Regions from separate parts of the Homo sapiens genome. Here regions 2 and 3 are each linked to region 1. The links are contacts of gene promoters, found by promoter capture Hi-C in blood cells and fetal thymus (Javierre and others, 2016). All regions are on one chromosome and are shown on one strand. Each heading gives the region's core, a stretch centred on a gene start or on the middle of the fragment in contact. The rest is flanking DNA. Distances are from core to core; before and after follow the strand shown.

Region 1 (3,621 bases), core at 1,067-3,566:
AGTTTATCTCTAAAGGAGTTAGCACCCTTCCCTAAACCTTGCATGTAGTAGGTACTCAATAAATCACAGCTATTATTATTATTATTCCAAAGTGACATTGACAACAGTTATAAGAAAAATAAAAACAGCAGTAGGACCTATTGTCTTTTTTGCACTGCCACAATAAATATCATGTTAAGCTTTGTAGCTAGAACTATCTTAGAGAGGAACAGATTTGCTCTTATAATTACAGCCTGACCAGAACCTTAGCTCCAGAAAGAAGAGAAATTCCATTTATGCATGTTGCACTCTTAATATAATAAAGGAGAAAGAACACTGGCGTAGGAATTAATAGGCAACTTATACTCGTCACATCTTTTATGATTATCTTATTCCATTCTGGTGACAACCCCCTTACTTTATCCTAATTTAATAGATGTTTAAAAAGCAAGCTCTGAGTGGAGTAGTGATATGTTTGGCTTAAACTGGCAATGCTGACTTTAATGTGTTTAGTCCAAATTCCATCAATAAATAACCCAGCAACTTTTGGCAAGACATTTTGCTTGTCTTCGCCTGGAGTTATTTGTCCATAAAATACCGGTGGGATGTAGATCTTTTGATTTCTAAGGCTTATCTTCCCTAATTCTTTTGGCATCTTGCAGCCATTAACAATGGCTGCAGGATAGCCCTTGTTCAAGAAGAAACTCACCTCTCTGTGGGGTTGGCTGCTTAAAGTTGTGCTGTTTTCAGCCAAGAGTCTTTGTATATACTTATAGCTATAAATTTGATTACTCTGACAAAATTTGGTAGTAAATAATTTTTCTCACCATTTAGTCCTCTACTTTCATTCAAGAGAGTTCTCTGGAAATTTGAATTATGGTATAAACAAAGCAGAATCTTCATGATGTGTTCATTGTCTTTACATATATAGGAGATGTTTGCAGGGCAGTCTTGTAGTCATAATATTAACACTGCTGACTTGGAATTTATTTATTTTGCATATAGAAATACAACGAAGGGGCTGTCTGTCATCTAGGTAACCCCCAGTAGTAATCCAATAGTAATAAGATTGGGATAGTCTGACAAACCATAGGCTATGCTGAGTGGAGAGCCCTGAGCATTCATTTGTCAGAGAAGTTGAAAGATTTTCTCTGCAGGAAGCTGCCTCTTGCCTGCACAGGTGGAACTGTGAGCATGTGCCCAGTCCCATGAGTGGAGGGGATTTCTTTTATTTAAAGATACTTAACTATTTCTAGGCTCATGAAAGACACCAACCAGTAGTAGTGGTCCTAGGCCTAAGGGCTGTGTGTCAGATATCTCTGAAGTGAGGTTATATTGAACCAACACAATATTTTGTTTTGTTTTGATAAATTTGCAAGCTCTTGCAGTCTAAGCATGTCTCAGTTAAGCATAGTATCCACTACTCTGTATTTACCTGGCCAACTTCATTCATTCACGCTGTCTGCTGCTCCTCGAAACCAGGTGGTCTGTCATCTCTGAAAGAGTGGCTCCTATTTGCTGCGCTTTGCATCTTATCCTCAAAACAGAACTGTGAGTTAGGTATAACTCCTATTTATAAGTGAGTAATAGGCATCTCCTATTTATAAGTGAGTAAACTGAGACTCAAAGGGAAAAACTAGCCCAAGGCAAGATAACTAACAAATCACCACTGATGACTGAGCCTTAAGCCTGCGCCCTAATAAGTTTCATTTTACTTGGTTCTGTCTGTGTCATCTGGCCCCTGGACCTTTTCTGGAAAGTCTGCAAAGGACCACCTGAGCCCATGACTTGGACTCACTCTTTCATTCGAACAACAAGACACCTTATTGGTTTTATTACAGATATCATCACCTAGCCCTCAGCGACTCAAGGTGTCATTATTTTGCCTTCCTTACACCCACTGTGTTAATTTCTGGACCCCAGGTTTTCAAGCCATTGACAATTTCAGCGTGTCTGTAATGTCTCCTTAGTAATTATTGAAGGTACTTGTTATATTTAGCCAAGAGAATAACTGGGGTGGTACTAGGATAACATCTACGTTCAAATAGTTGGATATTCAAGAGTCGATATATGTCTATGGTTCCGAAGGGCAAAGCCAGGCAGTGTAGGTCCTGCAGAACTCCAATTAATCAGGGCTGCCCAGTAATCCTAATGCCAAACCCGTGCCCCAGAACCTCGATTTCTCCCCAGACACCAACTCCAAGTTCCTCCACGGGGATGTGGGATTTCAGTTTATGCTCTTGCGTCCCTCTGCAGCCACAGGCCGCAGAGCCCGCCCCCAGGGCCCCGCCCCCGCTCTCCGGGCGCTGGACGCGGGACGCCGTCTCCTGGCAACGCAGACGCGGAGCCGAGCGCGCCCGCAGGCTCTTTGCTCAGAGCTCAGCCCTACATAGATCGGCTTCTGCCATGGCCTCCAAACAAACCAAAAAGAAAGAGGTGCATCGTATCAACTCGGCGCACGGATCGGATAAATCGAAAGAGTAAGGGACCTCTGCCTGTCCGTCCCTCCCCTGGCCTAGCCCCTCGACCTCACCACTAGTTCTGGGGCTGCCTCCCTGCAGCAAACTGTGCCAGGGCAGAAGTTTAGTGGCCTCCTCGCAGCTTGTCTTCTCTGGTAAACCAGATCCTGGAGGTGCTCGCTCTCATCCTTCTCTCTTGCTTGTCTTGACTCACTTCCTTTCCCAGAGCCCCTGATTTTCTTGCTTTGGGTGTTCAGCTCCCATGGGTGAATCTGCCACCCCTCCTCTTCTTCATAGCCCTCTCAGGCAGTTAGAAAGGCCATAGCTTTCCTAAGAAAGAGGCATATCTCAAATACTTCTGGTTAAAGCCACATCTTCATGGCCCCGGAAATGATACAGACAGCGAGTGACAGACAGACATGGACACATTTCACCTTAATGGTGATTTTCTAGTTTGCATCTGCCCAGTCCAACGACTACGATCTTTAATCAGATATAGTCAGACGTAAAGTGGCTTCTAAACCTTAAAACATTATAAATGTATAGTTCATGTTACTAACATTTACTCTGAGAAAGTAAACAGACCCTCGCTCATGGAATTTTTATGGTGCCTTTGTCCTGGGCTGGTGTTAGGTGTTGTGTCTTAGGATGTACTTCCCCATGATTATTATTTTCTGTGGTCTGTTTCCCTAGGGATATCCAGTTATCCACAGCATAGGATTGGGGCTGTTTGAACTTACACCATTTCTAATGTTCATTCCCACTGTGAGAGAATCCCAGCTGCCCGCCCTGCTTCAGTGGGATCATTCATGTTCTTCATGCTCTGCCTGATGGGGAGGGCGATGCAATCAATCATTTCAAATTGAATTCTTACATCCTTGATGCCTGTTTCTCCATTTCCTTCCCTGGCTGAAGAATTCCACATTGGACTGATCCCTATGATTCACTGATCCCTAGGATTTAAACTCTTTTTCTTTGTGAATTCTTCTCCCAGACTCATTCCCATGTCTGTGAATCTCTAGTCCCTTAGTTCTAACCTCTCTCATAAGCAGGTTTCCAGTTACCCGGCAGATAATCCATTCCTTTTACTAGCTTAAATTTTAGATATTACATATATAAGTAATATTACATATATAATTTTATATAAATATTACATATGTAATTTTAATAGGATTGCTTTACT
Region 2 (3,902 bases), core at 1,090-3,589, 560 kb before region 1:
CAGTACACATAAAGTTACCTGCAATGCAATAGACTCTCCAGAAATTGTTCATGATTAGCTCTGGAGGCAAATGTTAAGATGAGCCTGTCAAGGGGGAGGCAGGATATTGGAGTAATGGAGCCTTATCCACAAATAAAGTTTGAATGCACTTTGGAGCAAGCTGCCTACCTGGAATGTGAGTCTTTAAATATGCTAAGTATATAGTAGAGAAATAGCCTACCACTGATAAGAATATCTCAGCCAAGGACACTATATTTTGTTCTTCTGATAAAATACAGATTCCCCGTCAAAAAAACAAATTTATTATTTCAAATGATTTTTGAAAACAGTACTTAAAAATAACTGTAGTTAATAAAATTCAAAGCATTGAACAAGTCCAATAAAAATGTTCTTTGAGTATGTAGCTACAAGAATTTTTTTTGAGTGGATAAATTTTCATTCATTACTTTTATGTATTTATTTATTTATCTTAAGCCTTTCTTCTAGTATTTTGTCTCAGTTACTTAGATAAGTATTGATATAATAATGAATTTAGTGATGCTGCTTCCCTTATTAAAATATCCACTTTAAGGTAAACTTTTCTTTCCAGTTAGATTTTGATCTTGGTGTGACATTTTTTTGACATTTGCTTACATTTTATATAAAATTGGCCTTTTTGAGCTTCTTTCCAAAATCTGATTTTTTCCTTTTTAAGTACTTTTTTATTTGATATAAAACAATTAAAAAGTCTAATGACATCAGAAAAAAGTCCTCCTAAGTCATAAATACATACTTTGATTAATGCAATTACCTGTAATAATTTTATATCTACTAAATATCATATTTCCTATCTATGTACCAGTAACTTTCTATATATCTTTCTTGTCTTGATTGCAACCTACTTCAAAGGAAATTATCTTAATACATTGCTCATTTTATCATATAGTAAGAAATAGGAGTGTTTTGAAAGGTTATTCAGGCCAACTAATAAAAGATGCTTAGAACATCACATTACGTGCTTGCCCACGCTCAAAGCTTTCTAATTGTGATTAGGGTTTCTAATTAGAGTAGGAGTATATCGGAGTTAAATTGAGAGCAGAATTTCACCTGACTTTTAGTCAGTTCTTCTATGTAATGACCTAAAACAGATTTCTTGAAGTTTCCACCAATCCTTCATTGAAGACTAGGAGTCATCCAAAACATTCAAGCTTCTTTTCCATGTGACATTTATCATCAATGAATAATCTCTCTTTTGTAGTGTAGCTCTCCAGTTCCTTCACTCATGCATTTCATTTTTTACTTCCCTTACCATCATAGCTGACTAGAGTAGATCTTACATCAATTAACATCCCAAGGTCTTTTCAGAAGTGCTGCTATTAATCCATATCTCCTTCCTTTTATGCTTGAACAGTTATTAATTTTGTTACTGTTACCATTAGATTCAAGAGGAGGACTTGAATTTTTTCCCTTTAAATGTAAAATTATTAGCTTCAATCTGCCTTTCTAACATCAGTAAGTTCTGGGATTTTGATTGTTTAATTTATCTTAGTATTCCAGCTTTGTGTCTCCAGGATTTAACCATATACGTTAAAACCTGAATAAGATAAGGGTCGAAAGTAAAGTCTCAAACCCTTTCACGAGCAAACTACCTGGCTAATTCTGGTGTTCACTCAGCCTATTATGAATTTCTTCTATACAGTGCTTTTCCTCCTCTTACTATACTACCTTGCAAATGTATAAATGGCTATATGTAGTTTAAATGAAAAGTCATCACAACAGATGACTTTAAGTAAAGATTTACTGCATAAAAACTTTAAATAACAATTTTGAAGACTTAATTTCGGTTACTAAGTAGTTTTTACTTTAAGGGGAGTGCAGTTTAAATACATGTAAAGTAAGTAAAAGCAATCACAGTATAGACATTTATAAACATGAGTTTATTCAATTGTAGGGAACTGAAAGAATGTATTAGTGGTGCAATTATCTAGAGAAAACCTGGAGAAAAGGGAATTTTGGTTAGAGTTTTGTTTGGAAACATAGCATTTGTAAAAGAGACAGTATTGAAAGTACTGTAATGGTGTGAAAAAAACAGATTTGCTTATCTGGAGGAAAGAGTCTGGGGTAAGAACTAATAATAAAAACAGAAGTAAGTCCTAATATTCTGTGATTACATCAGTCTTTATAGACATGAAGGACAAGTAATGGAGAATCTTGAAGCATGTGACAAAGAGTTTTGGTTTCAAGAAAGATACATCCAAGCACAGTTAGACATGTGAACTTTGGCCAAGAGAACATATATTATTGGCAAAAGTTGGTGAGTGGACGAAAGAAAAGCCAGATATTGTTACGAGATACTTTATTTGTAATTTTTTAACAAGTGTTCATATCCAAGTAAAACCTTGTTTATCCATAACCTTGATTCTCTAGCTGTCTACTTTATACTTGAGAGTTGGTCTCTTTAAACACCAACATTTACATTTAAAACATTTTATGAGGTGATCTTTGCAAACACTACTGTAAGGTCCCCTAACTTCTTTTAAAGACAGTGCTCAATTTAATGGACATTTTCCTTGAATATACCAAGTTATCGTGAACATAAATTTTTACCTTGCGCTGGAATATGGTGGTAATCTTGGAGCCTGTTAAAAAAATATAAGGCCATTTATTATTACTCAAAATGGCCACAAATTGCCATACTTAAAAATTTTTATCTTTATTTTTTCTTTTATATCTTGGCTGGATTTATTAAACTCATTTTTAAAGTCATTAATCAGTATTTAGCAAACAGCTATTATGTGCATAGAATTAGAGTGAAATCCAAAGACGAAAAAAATGACACTTTCATTATTTTGAGTAAACTTGAACTCTTTGTGATTCCTTTGCCACACAATCACCCTGTGACTACGTTTATCTTGCTGCAAATTTTATAAGAAGCTGTCCTTCATAGGGTAGGTGGTGATGGCAGCTTCCATTTTATGTTTCTACCGTGTGGCTTGGCAGTAGCCATCCTTCTACAAGTATTAAAATTTTTGCCCTTATGATATAGGGAGCTAATATACAATAACTGCTTTGTGGATTTTCAGTAACTGGGCAGTGACTGGAGTGATGGGTTCACAAAGAGACTTATCAAAAGTCGTGTTTTCGGCATACACTTTTTTAAGAACACAGAGGGCTGGGGAACCACATCCAGAAAAGAATAGTTTGGTGAACACCTACAACCACTAAAAAAACTCATGGCACATGCTGTTCTGATATATGTTGGAAACAGCATGTCAGTAGGAGAAAGTTGTCAATTTTCAGAGAAGCTGTAGTTGAAAACCAGAGTCAAGACAAGGCATAAAGCCTTGTCAAAATGTCACTGTCTTATGCAACAGAGAGTTATCATTAGATTCTAAAATTATATAGAAATATTTGCTACTTTTTCCTGTTTAATTGTTCTCTATGAATGTCTACAACATTTAAAATCTTAACTTACATGAGAAATTATAATTTTAATTACCTTCTGTATTCCAGAAAGCTTTACTCTCTTAAACTTAAGGCATTGTAGTACCAAATAGAACATTAATGTTTTTATGAAGAGAATTGCTTCTCAGAAATCTCCAATTATCAATTTTAGGATTATCTATTTTATTTATTTCATAGCCAACAAATTAAATATTCAAGGCAATTATCTAAATATCCAGGTAAAAGCCTTAATTTGTAGTAGAAGCACAGGATTTTGATAGGCAGAAATTCTTTGATTACCTAGTAACTAATTTGCCTTCTAATAAAGACATTTATAAATAAACACGTGACTATTATGCATCACATATTTTTCTTGGTGCTAGTAACACATAAAGTAATAAAAATCAATAATAATAACTATTATTACTACTAATATTTGTTGGAAGAGACATGTAAATATATAGACAGTTATAGGCTCA
Region 3 (3,903 bases), core at 1,042-3,541, 590 kb before region 1:
GAACCCAGAAACAAATCTACACACCTACAGTGAATTCATTTTTGACAAAGGTGCCAAGAACATGCACTGGGGAAAAGACAGTCTTCAATACATGCTGCTGGGAAAACTGGATATTCACATGCAGAAGAATGAAACTAGACCCTATCTCTTGCCATTTACAAAAATTCAATCAAAATAGATTAAAGATTTAAATCTAAGACCTCAGGCTACGAAATGACTACAAGAAAACATTGGAGGAACTCTCTATGCAAGACATTGGCCTGGGCAAAAAATTTATTGAGTAATACCCCACAAGCATAAGCAACTAAAGCAAAAAAGGACAAATGGGCTCGCATCAAGAAAAAGCTTCTGCACAGCAAAGGATACAGTCAACAAAGGAAGGAGACAACCCACATAATCGTAGAAAATATTTGCAAACTACTTATCTGACAAGATATTAATAACTAGAATGTATAAGGAGCTCAAACAACTCTATAGGAAAAATATAATTATCCAGCCAAAAACTGGGCACAAGATCTGAGTAGACATTTCTCAGACAAACAAATGGCAAACAGGCATTTGAAAAGGGGCTCAACATCATTGATCATCAGATAAATGCAAGTCAAAACTACAATGAGATATTATCTTACCCCAGTTAAAATGGCTTATACCCAAAAGACAGACAATAACAAATTCTGAAGAAAAGGGAACCCTGATACACTGTTAGTGGGAATGTGAATTAGTATAACCACTATGGAAAATAGTTTGAAGATTCCTCAAAAACACTAAAAATATCACTACCACATGATCCAGCAATCTTCCTATTGCTGGGTATATACTCTAAAGAAAGGAAATCAGTATATTCAAAGAGATATCTGCACTCCTATGTTTGTTGCTGCACTGTCCACAATATCCAAGATTTGGAAGCAATCCAAGTGTTCATCAACAGATGAATAGATAAATAAAATGTGGTACATATACACAATGGAGTACTATTCAGCCATAAAAAGAATGTGATCCTGTCATTTGCAACAACATAGATGGAACTGGAGGTCATTATGTTAAATGAAATAAGAAAGGCAGGAAGAAACATCACGTATTCTCACTTATTTGTAGGATCTAAAAGTTAAAACAATTGAACTCATGGACACAGACAGTAGAAGAATGATTATCAGAAACTGGGAAGGGTATTGGGGGTGGATAGGAGGTGGAAATTGTTAATGCGTACCAAAAAATAGCTAGTAAGAATGGGTAAGACCTACTATTTGATAGCACAACAGGGTGACTATAGTAAATAATAACTACACTTTAAAATAACTAAATGAGTACGATTGGGTTGTTTATTACAAAAAGGATAAATGGTTGAGGAGATGGATACCCCATTCTCCATGATGTGATTATTATGCATTGCATGCCTGTATTAAAACATTTCATGTACCCCATAAATATATGTACCTACTATATACCTACACTTGAAAATAAAACATTTTTAAAAATGCAACTAATTTTTGTGTGTTGATCTTGTATCCTTCGACTTTGCTAAATTTGTTTATTACCTCTCGTAATTTTTTGTGTGGATTCTTTAGAATTTTTTTATGTATGTATTTTGTAAATATCCATTTTTTCTATGCAAAGGAATAGTTTTACTTCTTTTTTCCCAATTTGAATGATTTTATTTCTTTTTTCTTGTCTAGTAGTCTTTGGCTAAAATGTTCAGTGCATTATTGAATAGCATTGGTAAAAGTGAGCATCCATGTCTTGTTCCTGATTTCAGGGAAAAGGCTTTATGTTTTTCACTATTGAGTATAATATTAGCTTTTTTTTTCTTTTTTAAATAAATGTGCTTTATCAGGTTGAGGAAGTTCTATTTTATCTCTGATTTTTAAATTAAATTATTTTAATTATTAAAGGGTGTTCAATTTTGCCAAATGCTTTTCCTGTATAAATTAAGGTGGTAAATTTTTAAAAATTTCATTAATGTGTTATATTACATTGAGTGATTCTTGTATATTGAATAACTTGCATTTCTGGGATGAATCATGCTTATGGCATATAATCCTTTTACTGGGCTGCTGTATTCAGTTTGCCAATATTTTTGAAAATTTTTGTATCTATATTCACATGGAATATTAATCTCTTAAACTAATAAAAATATATTATGAATTAACACCACCTTATCTTCAATAGTATACAAAAACTTTGCTCCCTAGAGCTCTACCACCCCCTTTGTGTTGTTTTCACAAAATACATTATGCAGTGTGTGTGCATTGACATGGATTTGTAATTATTGTTTTATACCTGTGGCATTAAATTATATAGGAAAAGAAAGAAGAGTTCCAAACCAAAAATACAATAATACTAATCTTTGAGTTTACCTATGTGGTTATCTTGACCAGTAACATTAATTCTTTGTATGGCTTCAAGTTACTGTCTAGAGTCATTTCATTTCCATCTGAAGAATAGAACTCCTTTGTAGCATTTATTATAGGGCAGTGCTACTGGTGACAAACTCCCATAGCTTATGTTCATCAAATAATATCTTAATTTTGTCTTCATTTCTGAAAAACGGTTTTGCTGAATATACAATACTTAAATGACAGTATTTTCTTTCAGCATTTTAACTCTGTCATTCCTGTTTTCTGGCCTTTATTGTTTCTGCTGAGAAACTGACTGCTAATGTTGTTGAGGATTCCTTGTAACTGTAAATTTGCTTTTCTCATGCTGCTTTCAAGATTTTGTCTCTGTCTTTTACTTCTGACAGTTTAATTGCAATGTGTTTTGGTATGGAACTCTTTGTGTTATCCTTGTTTTGAGTTTGTTCAGATTCTTGGATATCTGCATTTGTGTCTTTATCAACATTGGGAAGTTTGTGACCATTATTTCTTTAAATATTCTTTCTGTCTCTTTCTTTTCTCCTTCTGGAACTCCTATTATTTGTATTATTGTACACTTGATGTTGTCCCATAGTTGTTTGAGGCTCTATTTATTTCTTTTTTGTGCACCTTGGACTAAATCATTTCAATCGACCTATCCTCAAGTATGCTGATTCTTTCTTCTGCCTGTTCAAATCTGCTATGCAAACACTTGTGGATTTTTCATTTCAGTTATAATACTTTTGAGCTCCATTTTTTATACTTTTGCTACCTTTCTTTTATAATTTTTATCTCTTTGTTAATATTCTCTACTTGCTGAGACATCGTTATTTTTGTTTCGTTACACTCTTTTTCAATGGTTTTCTTTAGCTCTTTAAATATATTTAAGAGAGCTGATTTAAAGTTTTTTTCTAGTAAGTCCAATGTTTTTGCTTCACAGGGTCAGTTTCTGTTAATTATTTCTGTGATTAGGGCATATTTCTTTTTTTTTCATACTTTGTATTTTTTGTTGCAAACTGGACATTTTAAATATATAATGTGGTACCTCTGGAAATCAGATTCTCCCCTTTGTCAGGGTTTGGTTTTGCAGTTTTTTGTGGGTTTTAGTTGGTTGCTTGTTTAGTCACTTTTCTAAGTTATTTTGCGACTTCTGTATTCTTTGTTGTGTGTAGTCTCCAATCTGTTTCTTTAGCTTCTATTCAGCTGGTGTTTTGACAGAGTTTTCCTTAAATGCCTGGCTCCAAAAACAAAATGGAACAACAATAACAAAAAAGACAACAAAAGAAGGAAAGAAGGAAGAAAATGTAAAAAAGAAAATAAAGAAATCCTCCTATGCTTTGCAGCTTTTGCTCCTTTGGGACGCTCCCAACTCAGCCAGGGTGTTTACAACTCTGCCTTAGCCTTCACTTCCTGCTTATGCTAAATCTAGACCTGAGTCAGTGGTGAAAGCCTAGAGTGTTCTCAGATCTTTTCTAAGTGTGTGTTCTGCCCTGGTCATGTGCATGGTTTTCTAAATTTTCTTGTTTACATGGGTGCTTTTCAATGCCCTTAT

Evidence for each region. Contacts are between HindIII fragments. The CHiCAGO score rates a contact against its expected background, and 5 or more counts as called.
Region 2: a contact is called between a fragment that was not itself captured here and the fragment with the promoter of ADGB in region 1, in 1 of 17 cell types (endothelial precursors). The highest score is 5.4, in endothelial precursors.
Region 3: a contact is called between a fragment that was not itself captured here and the fragment with the promoter of ADGB in region 1, in 1 of 17 cell types (endothelial precursors). The highest score is 5.3, in endothelial precursors.

Annotation. Positions count from the first base shown.
Region 1 is chr6:146,596,656-146,600,276 of GRCh38, forward strand. ADGB (androglobin) reads left to right here and starts at 2,317. Exons shown (of 36, transcript NM_024694.4): 1 at 2,317-2,459. The coding sequence starts at 2,386. It overlaps ADGB-DT (ADGB divergent transcript), which reads right to left and starts at 2,276. Exons shown (of 3, transcript NR_125860.1): 1 at 2,178-2,276; 2 at 1,415-1,516. RefSeq lists a silencer at 2,118-2,412. The HindIII fragment of the contact is 3,644 bases long and covers 178-3,621 here.
Region 2 is chr6:146,033,086-146,036,987 of GRCh38, forward strand. The region is part of intron 1 of GRM1 (glutamate metabotropic receptor 1); the gene reads left to right. Among named protein-coding and RNA genes, the nearest start is that of GRM1, 6.0 kb to the left of the region's middle. The HindIII fragment of the contact is 2,309 bases long and covers 1,186-3,494 here.
Region 3 is chr6:146,005,760-146,009,662 of GRCh38, forward strand. No RefSeq gene overlaps it. Among named protein-coding and RNA genes, the nearest start is that of GRM1, 21 kb to the right of the region's middle. The HindIII fragment of the contact is 3,896 bases long and covers 344-3,903 here.